Regions from separate parts of the Homo sapiens genome. Here region 1 is linked to region 2. The links are contacts of gene promoters, found by promoter capture Hi-C in blood cells and fetal thymus (Javierre and others, 2016). All regions are on one chromosome and are shown on one strand. Each heading gives the region's core, a stretch centred on a gene start or on the middle of the fragment in contact. The rest is flanking DNA. Distances are from core to core; before and after follow the strand shown.

Region 1 (4,899 bases), core at 1,172-3,671, 410 kb before region 2:
GTGTAAAGGAAGGCTTAATTAGCTTAAAGTAAAACTTCCTTTGGCAAGAATATTTAATAGGTGATGCTGTGTACCTCCTGTTGCATAATATAGGAGGCACACAATGTCAGATTCCCACACTATTAATGATGCTAAATGTAACCATTTGATTAAAGTGCTGACTACTGATCTGTTGTAAAGGTGTGGTTTGCCAGTTTGTGATTAATATGTAATCTTGGGGTAAAACTTGGACACTAAGCAAATACCCAGTTTCTGACAATCTTTTGCTTAGTGGTTTTTAGCACCCATGATGACTTTTGCTTAAATCAGTTATTGGAGGTTCTCTGTAAGGAAGAGATTTCCTTCATTAAGTGCAGGTAAACTATTGTTCTTCCCCAAAATGCAAATTAAATGTTAAATTTAATCTCTTTACTTTTCAATATTCATAGTAAAGAGCTGGAGAAATAGCCACCCCCAATGATGTTTTTTGGGGCAGGGGTGAATGATACCACTTCAGACTCTCATGGGTTTTAATTTATTCCTTGTTTTATAACCAGTTACAGTCGTCTTTCTTTTTAATGACCAAATTGTCCCAGATTTGGTCAGTAGGAACCATTTCAAGCTGACTATTGTGTGTCTTGACACCCCTGCTCCCCATTAATCTTGGAGTGCTTTCTGACACGAGTTACTCCAGGGTTTATCTTATACTTTCTTTGCTCACCTCTGGAAAGAGCTGTTTATCCAGGGAGTCTTGGTTCTTTTTAATGAGAAATCGTATATAGAAACCAAGTTCTGGATGTTTGGCATATTCGTTGCTGCTGCAGTATCATTGCTTCTAGGTGCTTTGAGAGGAGAGAACTAAGAAAAAGGTTTTTGCTTGTTTAATCATGAGTTCAGAGTGATATTCCAATTCCTATTTAACAAGCAGACTTTTTCTTCCTTGACTCTATATTTGTCTCTTGTCTTAAATGAAAATCTTGGTTTTTAATACAGTTAATAAACTGGCCAAGCACAGTGGCTCATGCCTGTAATCCCAGGACGTTGAAAGGCCGAGGTGGAAGGATTGCTTGAGCCCAGGAGTTCAAGGCCAGCCTGGGCAACATGATGAGACCCCATCTCTATAAAAAATAAAAAAATTAGCCAGGCGTGGTGGTGTGTGCCTGTGTTCCCAGCTGCTCAGGAGGCTGAAGCAGGTGGATCACTTGAGCCCAGGAGGTTGAGGCTGCAGTGAGCCATGTTCATACCCCACTGCACTTCAGCCTGGATGACAGAGTGAGACCCTGTCTCCAAAAAAAATAATAAACTTATTTGCTTTCTCCCACTGTATACATAAAATCATTTTAAAATTATAGTGCTGGTATTGCTAATACCAATAAGCTTCATGTAGTTTAAGATTTCTTTGCATTTATTTTCGTATTTAGACTATATTGCATGAAGAATGTATAATGAGTACTGTGTTCAAAAGTCACTTGAAATACTTTTCTCTGGTTATGCTACCAATTTGATATGGTTCATAGGTTTCAGTTTTTACTTAGGATTTTATTTTTGAATATGTAAAGTATGTACATAGTGTAGAAGTCAAAATAATGTTTTAAAACTATACTTGGATTAGCCGGGCATGGTGGCACATGCCTGTAGTCTCAGCTACTTGGGAAGCTGAGGCAGGAGAATTGCTTGAACCGGGGAGGTTGCAGTGAGCCAAGATTGCGCCATTGCACTGCAGCCTGGGTGACAAAGCGGGACTCCATCTCAAAAGCAAAACAAAACAAAAAAAAACTATATTTGGATAAACCTCATTAAAATTAGTTTTTAAAGATGAAGTATTGTTTACCTTTACCATACTCCTTTTAGTATCTACTACATTCTCACATCAAGCTCAGAAGAATTAGCAATAGACAAATTATGTTATGTGAAGCCACATAGAAGTACTTTTAAATTTTAAAATTAGATTCTGCTTCCTCTGGCAAAGAGAACTAAGACTAGTTTTTAGAAGTTAGCAGAGAAGTGGATTCCATGCTTACTTTTTTTTTTTTTTAAAGACGGGGGATTTACTGTGTTGCTCAGGCTGGAGTGCAGTGGCTATTCACAGATGTGATCCTACTACTGATAAGCACGGGAGTTTTGACCTGCTCTGTTTCTGACCTGGGCCACTTCTCTCATTAGGCAACCTGGTGGTCCCTCACTCCCTGGAGGTCACCATGTTGATGCCTAATTTAGTGCAGACACCCAATCGGCATAGGATACTACAGTCCAGAACTTCTGGGCTCAAGGGATCTTCCTGCCTCAGCCTCTTGAGTAGCTGGGACTACAGGCACACACCACTGCGCCCAGCTCTTTTTCTTAAATAGTGATTTAAAATAGTGATAGATTCTCATTATGTTGTCCAGGCTGATCTCTCAAACTCCTGAGCTCAAGTGATCCTGCTGCCTTGGCCTCCCAAAGTGCTAAGATTACACATGTAAGCCTGTAGCCGTAGGCCTAGATACCATATTTTTAAATAAAAATTCCATAAAAATAGAACTGTAGCTTTTACTTAAATCATGTCTTTAAAGAGGCAGGTAGTTGGTAGAGGTTTTATGACTCCATCTACTTTTTTAACTTTTTTTTTTTTTTTTTGAGATGCAGTCGCCCTCTGTTGCCCAGGCTGGAATGCAGTGGCTCGATCTCAGCTCACTGCAATCCACCTCTGCCCCCTGGGTTCAAGCGATTCTCCTGCCTCAGCCTCCCTAGTAGCTGGGATTACAGGCATGTACCACCACGCCCAGCTAATTTTTGTATTAGTAGAGATGGGGTTTCACCATGTTGTCCAGGCTGGTCTCGAGCTCCTGACCTCAAGTGATTCACCTGCCTCGGCCTCCTGAAGTGTAATCCTGGCCTCCTAAAGTGCTGGAATTACAGACGTGAGCCACTGCGCCCAGGTGACTCCATCTACAACAAAACTGGCATAAATATGCTATGTACAGATAAAAAGGCATTTGGATATGTGATCAGTGGAGATAACACATTTTGTTTGGGTTGGACCAAATTTGATATAAATTCATAATTATGTGATCTCAAATGAAGTTTTAAGAGGGAGCAGTGTTCATCTAAAGTAAGCAGAGCACAATTAGGCAGTTTATCAGCCTCCTGTCAACCAAGTGCTGAAAAGCAAAACTGTGCCTGTAGTGTGTTTTCCTGTGTTCATCCTCACTGTCATAGGTCACACTAGCTGAGGCTGGCGTTGCAGGTGGTAAAGGAATTACCAAGGCAATTGTAGGTAAAGAAGGGCAGATTTATTAGAGAAAGTATGAAAGTAGGTTGGTTGCAAGGGTGCAACGGGCAGATCAGCAAGAGAGAAGCTGACTGCCAGGAGACAATGGCTTGCTGGGCATGTTACAGGATGATGCTTCTGCTGTGTGCTGCAGAGAGGGCTATGTGCAGTACTGATAAGGCCAAGGTTGCAGTGAGCTAACTTGCATTTTTCTGTCAGCTGAGAGTCTGGTGATAAGTTGAGTGCAGAAAGCTTGTGAGTTATTTGTGCAAGAGGGCTGTGTGTCTTGGACCATGAAGAAAGGCAGACTTATACCTTATCTGCTTTTTCTTTTTGCTGTACCCTTTTCCCACCCGCCTGACTCCTTTTCCCTTACTAGGACTCCACAATCACTGCTTTCAATAACAGAGTGAACATCTAGTTCCATTAGGGAGTGGAGTGGGAAGATGGAGAATGCTTGCACTTGGACCCATTCACCCTCATTCTGTCTTTAATCTCAGTAAAATACATACACTACCCAAGGTTCTTAGAACATATAAGGTGATGAAGAAGAATACTATAAACAGTTGCATGGGTATGTGTAGCCATGTAGCAGCTAGAACCTGTTGTGTAGGCTGAATGAACTAATACAGTGTTGATAATAATGCTAACATTTGTTATGCCCTTTCTGTATGCCAGCTGTGCTAAACATTTTATACATTATCTTATTTAAATCTCACATTAACACTTTGACATTGCTACTAGTATCTTATTTTGCAGTAAGGAAACTGGTATCTAAAAGCATTAAATGACTTGCCTAGAGTATCACAATAAGTGGCCGACCCAGGTTTCAAATTCAAGGCTGTTTAGAGTTAGCACTTAGCTGCTTTGCTCCACCTCACAACTAAATGTAACAAGTCATAAAAATTGAATAAATTTTCAGTCACCATGAATACGGAACTACATGACTGATGCTGTAACAACCTCAGAGATTGCAACGGGGATATGTTCTGAGAAATGCGTCGTTAGGCGATTGTGTCATTGTATGAACATCATAAAGTGTACTTAGACAAAACTTGATGGTATGGCCTACTCTACATCTAGGTTATATGGTATAGCCTGTTGCTCCTAGGCCACGTATCTGTACAGCATGTTACTGTACTGAATGCTGTAGGCTTTTGTAATGCAGTGGAAAGTATATGTATATCTAAGCATATCTAAACCTAGAAAAGGTGCAGTAAAAATATGGTATTACAGGGTTGCGCACGGTGGCTCATGCCTGTAATCCCAGTACTTTGGGAGGCGGAGGCGGGTGGCTCACCTAAGGTCAGGAGCTCGAGACCAGCCTGACCAATATAGTGAAACCCTGTCTCTACTAAAAATACAAAAATTAGCCAAGTGTGGTGGCATGCACCTGTAGTCACAGCTACTTGGGAGGCTGAGACAGGAGAATTGCTTGAACCTGGAAGGTTACACCAGTACCATGCTGTTTTGGTAACTATAGCCTTGTAGTATAGTTTGAAGTCAGGTAATGTGATTCCTCCAGCAGTGAGCCCAGATTGCACCACTGCCCTCCAGCCTGAGCGACAGAATGAGACTCTTGTCTCAAAAATAATATGGTATTATAATATGGGACGGTTGTGGTATTTGTGGTCTATCATTGAGGGACACATGCCACGCATGATTGTATA
Region 2 (4,830 bases), core at 2,331-4,830:
ACCTGCTGAAGTTATAGCAGAACCTCAGTCACCTGGAGGAAAGGAAATAGCCAGCCCCAGCCCATTCCAGCCATTGTCCCTCATCTAAGAGGGGATAACTGCGTAGCATTCGTGAAGTTCACAGTCCAGAGGCACAGGCTCACCAGAAGACTGAGGCCTCCTTTAGGAATACAGAATGCTTCCCCAACCCCAACACCTTACCACCACATTGCTAAAGGCCTACTTACAGAAGCTCTCTCTACCTGGCACATCATGACCAGCTATCAAGAAAAACATTACAAGGCATACTAAGAGGCAAAAGACACAAGTTTGAAGAAAGAGAGCAAACATCAGACCCAGAATTAGATATGGCCGAGATGTTGGAATTCACAGACTGGGAATTTGAAACAACTGTGATTAATATGAAAAGGGCTCTACTAGAGAAAGTAGACAACAAGCAATAACAAACAATGTAAGGAGAGAGATGGAAATCCTAAGAATGAGCTAAAATGCTAGAGATAAAAAATGAAGAGTAGGCTGGGCACGGCAGCTCATGCCTGTAAACCCAGCACTTTGGGAGGCTGAAGTGGGTGGATCATTTGAGGTCAGGAGTTCAAGACCAGCCTGGCCAACACGGTGTAACCCTGCTTCTACTAAAAATACAAAAATTAGCCAGGCGTGGTGGTGGGTGCCTGTAATCCCAGCTACTCAGGAGGCTGAAGTGGGAGAATCGCTTGAACCTGGGTGGTGGAGGTTGCAGAGAGCTGAGATTGCGCCTCTGCACTCCAGCCTGGGTCACAGTGCAAGACTCCACCTCAAAAAAAAAAAAAAAAAAAAAAAAAACATGAAGAGTAGCTGTGAGAGGCTAAATGGTAGACTAGACACATCTTAGGAAAGAATTGCTGAGCTTAAGGATATCTCAATAGAAACCTCTATAACTGAAAGACAAACAATATCCAAAAACTGTGAGATGATGAAAAAAAGGTATAACTATGCCTCATGGGAATACTAGCAGAAGACAGAGAAAGGAACAGAAGAAATATTTGAAGCAATAATGATTGATTATTTCCCCAAATCAATATGGAAGATGAAACCACAGATCCGGGAAGCTCAGAGGACACACAGGATAAATGCAAAAAAATCCTTCAAAACCAAAAAACAAATGAACAAAAAATGACTTTTCTTCAGAAACTGTGCACACAAGGAGCGAGTGGAATGAAATGTTTAAGGTGTTGAGAGAAAAAAGCAGTGTCTAACCTAGAATGCTGTAGCCCATGAAATTATCCCCCAAAAGCAAAGGGGATTTGTTGCCAGTAGACCTGCCTTGGAGAGAATGTTAAGTTTTTCAGAGAGAAGAAAAATGATAAAAGTCAGAACCTCAGATCTATATAAAGAAAGAACATCATTATTACCTTTAATAATGAAGGTAAAGGAAAAGTCTTACTTATTCTTTGTTGTTTTATTTTTCTTTTTACTTTTTTGAGACAGGGTTTCACTCTGTTGCCCAGGCTGGAGTGCAGTGGTGCAATCACAGCTCACGGCAGCTTCGATCTCCCTGGCTCAAGCGATTCTCCCACCTCAGTCTCCTGAGTAGCTGGGACTACAGGCACGTGCCACCACACCTGGCTAATTTTTTGTATTTATTTTAGTAGAGATGGGGTTTCACCATATTGCCCAGGCTGGTCTCCAATTCCTGGGCTCAAGTGATCCACCCATCTCAGCCTCTCAAAGGGGAAGATCCTGGGCATTGGGACTGAGGTGTTTTTGATACGTTCATGCAAAGATGCCTGGAGTGGGTGGTTGGATTTCTGGGTTGTTTGATTCATAATTGCTTGATTCATAATTGCCAAAACCTGGAAACAATGAAGATATCTTTCAGTAAGCGAATAGATAAAACTGTGATATATCGACACAATGGAATATTATTCAGCACTAAAAAGAAATAGGAGCTATCAAGCCATGAAAAGACATGGAGGAAACTTCAATGCCTGTTACTACGGGAAGGAAGCCAATCTGAAACGGCTACATACTATGTAATTCCAACTAGATGACACTCTGGAAAAAGGCAAAACTATGGAGACAAAAAGATCAGCGGTTGCCAGGGGTAGAGGAGAGGGAGAGATGAATATGCAGAGCACAGATGATTTTTAAGACAGTGAAATTACTCTGCATTATACTGTGATGGTGGGTAATGATGTATCAATGTAGGTTCATCAGTTCTTTTGTTTGAGATGGAGTCTCGCTCTGTCTCGCTCTGTCGACAGGCTGGAGTGCAATGGCTCAATCTCGGCTCACTGCAACCTCCGCCTCCCCGGTTCAAGCAATTCTCCTGCCTCAGCTCCCGAGTAGCTGGGACTACAGGTGCCCGCCACCACGACCGGCGAATTTTTGTATTTTTAGTAGAGACGCGGTTTCACCATGTTGGCCAGGATGGTCTCGATCTCCTGATCTCGGGATCCGCCCGCCTCGGCCTCCCAAAGTGTTGGGATTACAGGCGTGAGCCACCAGGCCGGGCCGGGTTCATCAGTTCTAAGAAATGTACCACTCTGGTAGAGGATGTTGATAAAGGGAAGGCGATGCATGTGGGGAGGTGGGGCGGGGAGTATTTGGAAAATATCTTTCTGCTCAATTTTGTTAACTTTAAACCACTTTAAAAAAACAAAGTCTATCAAAAATTATAGTTTACATTGTTTTTACTCTTTTTCTCTTTCTGGTCTTGTCACAATCTCAAGGTAAGGGAAATATCGGTGACAACTATAGAGTGATATTCCACTGCCATTTATACTCGATAGTTTCTAATTCAAGAGCCTCTCAACAGTGTAACAGGAACTTAGAGCATATGTGGAGCCAGTAGAGGAACAGAGATCGGGTTGTTTGGAAACTACTCTCTTCCAGGAAGGGAAGAACATTAGCTCGGCCGGCCGGCTTCTCTGGTCCCATCCACACACAGAACTGAGGATGGTCTCTGCGCCACTGCTGGGAGTACCTGGAATAAGTAGTGTGAAGCCGTACTAAGCAAAACCCAGTGAATAACAGGAAAGGGGCCTTCATATCTAAGAAGAGGAAAATGATGGAGTTTAACTTTAAAATGTGATCCTTCGATGTGTTTACATTCTTTCTGGACATCGAGGGCCCGGGGACGGGAAGGAGGAATGAAGGAACTCGGAAGCACAGGCTGAGGTCGCGTTCTACTCATGTCCTCAACTGTAAAATGGGCACTAATAGTGCATAGCTCACAGGGCTGCAGCACAAAGACGGTGGGTAGAAAGTGCTTAGCATAGGGCCTGGGGCAGGGTATGCTCTCTGCAAACGTCAGCTAATAGACGTGCCTTCGCTCACGGGCTATGGAACTTTGATTCGCGGTCAGGCAAAGACAGGCACTGTCTGGGGCCTCTGGAAGCTCCTAAATCAGGTGAGACGCGCAAGCAGGCTGGAACCTGCATCCCCAGGCCCAGCCGCGCGCAGGCACCCTCGCCGACCCTCCGCTCTCCCGAGCCGCTCCAGGACCCGCCCGCTGTGGCCCCGCCCCGGCACCCTCCAGGCCCCGCCCCGCGCTGCCCCGCCCCTTCCGCCGCGCAGGCCCAGAGCGTGCGCGCACCCAGACTCCTTGCGGGAGCGAGTGCGTCTGGGAGCCCGCGGCCGGAGAAGGGCTGCGGGTTAGGGGGCCGGCGCCCGCGGTTCAGGTGAGGGCGGGCAAGGGGCGGCGAAAGGGTTGAAGTGTCTCCTGGGAGTGGAGGGAGCGGGAGCGGGCGGCTGGGTCCGCGAGGTCGCTGCCCGTGTGGGCGTGGGGAGCGGGAGCGGGGCGTGGGGAGCGGTGCGACGCGTGAGGCTGGGGGTTAGGGTTAGGCACGGCGTGGGGGAGGGGCGGGGCCGAGCCGTGCAGTTCTGAGGATTGGACCCGGGCCTTGGGCCAGCCGGGCTGGCACCGGAGGGGAATTTGCTGCAGAGTTGAGGGCTTTGGAGCCGGCGGTTGCTCTGGAAGGACCCGAGGGTTTAGCTTCTGCGTTGGGGAGGGTCCAGCGGGGAAAGTTAGACCAGGTGCTGAAAGCCAGTGATGAGAGGCCGAGAGGCCTTCGTGGTCTAGTGAAGAGGTTCAGAACGCCCGAAGATCTGGAAATCCTTGGCTTCCGGGGTCCAACTCCCTGGCAGCTGCCTGGTTTTGGTATTTTGAGATTCTGTTCAGAATAGTGGCAGTGCAAAGGTTGTCAGTGGACTAGATTAACTTTAGCTAGACACGCACCGTCACTGAAGAAACTTGTGAGCAAGTTGTATAGAGACCTCCTAAGAGGCAGGTAGGACACTGACTTTGCAGTTGATAGTCTGTTCTATGCCAGTTCTGTTAAGAAGGTTTTATTCTGAGCATCAGGTTGCTTCTGCAATTTTTTTTTGGTGCTATTTTGAAGTTTTGTTAAACTCACATGCTATGTGCTGTCTCACCCGCTTCACTTATTTAGGCATAGGCATGATGAGGATGTCATTTCACCATGTGCTGAAGGGTGATGAGGGGGCACAGTTGCTTGGGGACCACCCACGTGACTTGACTCAACGCTTAAGTTTCTGCTATATCTTTACATGGATCTGAAATCTCTTCAAGGGAGCTTGAAATAATTTAGTGGAACATGCTTCATTTTACATATAGTTATTCTAGAACTGTTCTTTATCATTGGAGAATTTTGGAAAAGAAAAGTACCTGTATTACGTAATTCACACTGTCACTCATCTAGAGATTATTCATTGCAGGATTCCAGAATTGGAAATAACGGGAGGGAGGACCTGGTCCAGCTTCCCTTCCTCAAATAAGGAAATTGACACCTGGCGTGGTAAGATTTGTGGAATGTGGTGTTTGTGGAA

Evidence for each region. The method cuts DNA at HindIII sites, captures the fragments that hold promoters and counts their contacts. A CHiCAGO score of 5 or more calls a contact.
Region 1: a fragment that was not itself captured here is called in contact with the fragment with the promoter of NFRKB in region 2 in 3 of 17 cell types (total B cells, activated CD4 T cells and M0 macrophages); the score reaches 6.2 in total B cells.

What each region holds. Positions count from the first base shown.
Region 1 is chr11:130,307,592-130,312,490 of GRCh38, reverse strand. All of the region lies in intron 1 of ZBTB44 (zinc finger and BTB domain containing 44), which reads left to right. It also overlaps the pseudogene RN7SL778P. Among named protein-coding and RNA genes, the nearest start is that of ZBTB44, 4.9 kb to the left of the region's middle. The HindIII fragment of the contact is 2,125 bases long and covers 1,359-3,483 here.
Region 2 is chr11:129,894,328-129,899,157 of GRCh38, reverse strand. NFRKB (nuclear factor related to kappaB binding protein) reads left to right here and starts at 3,580. Exons shown (of 27, transcript NM_001143835.2): 1 at 3,580-3,662; 2 at 4,720-4,799. RefSeq lists a silencer at 3,424-3,863. The HindIII fragment of the contact is 7,376 bases long and covers 1-4,830 here.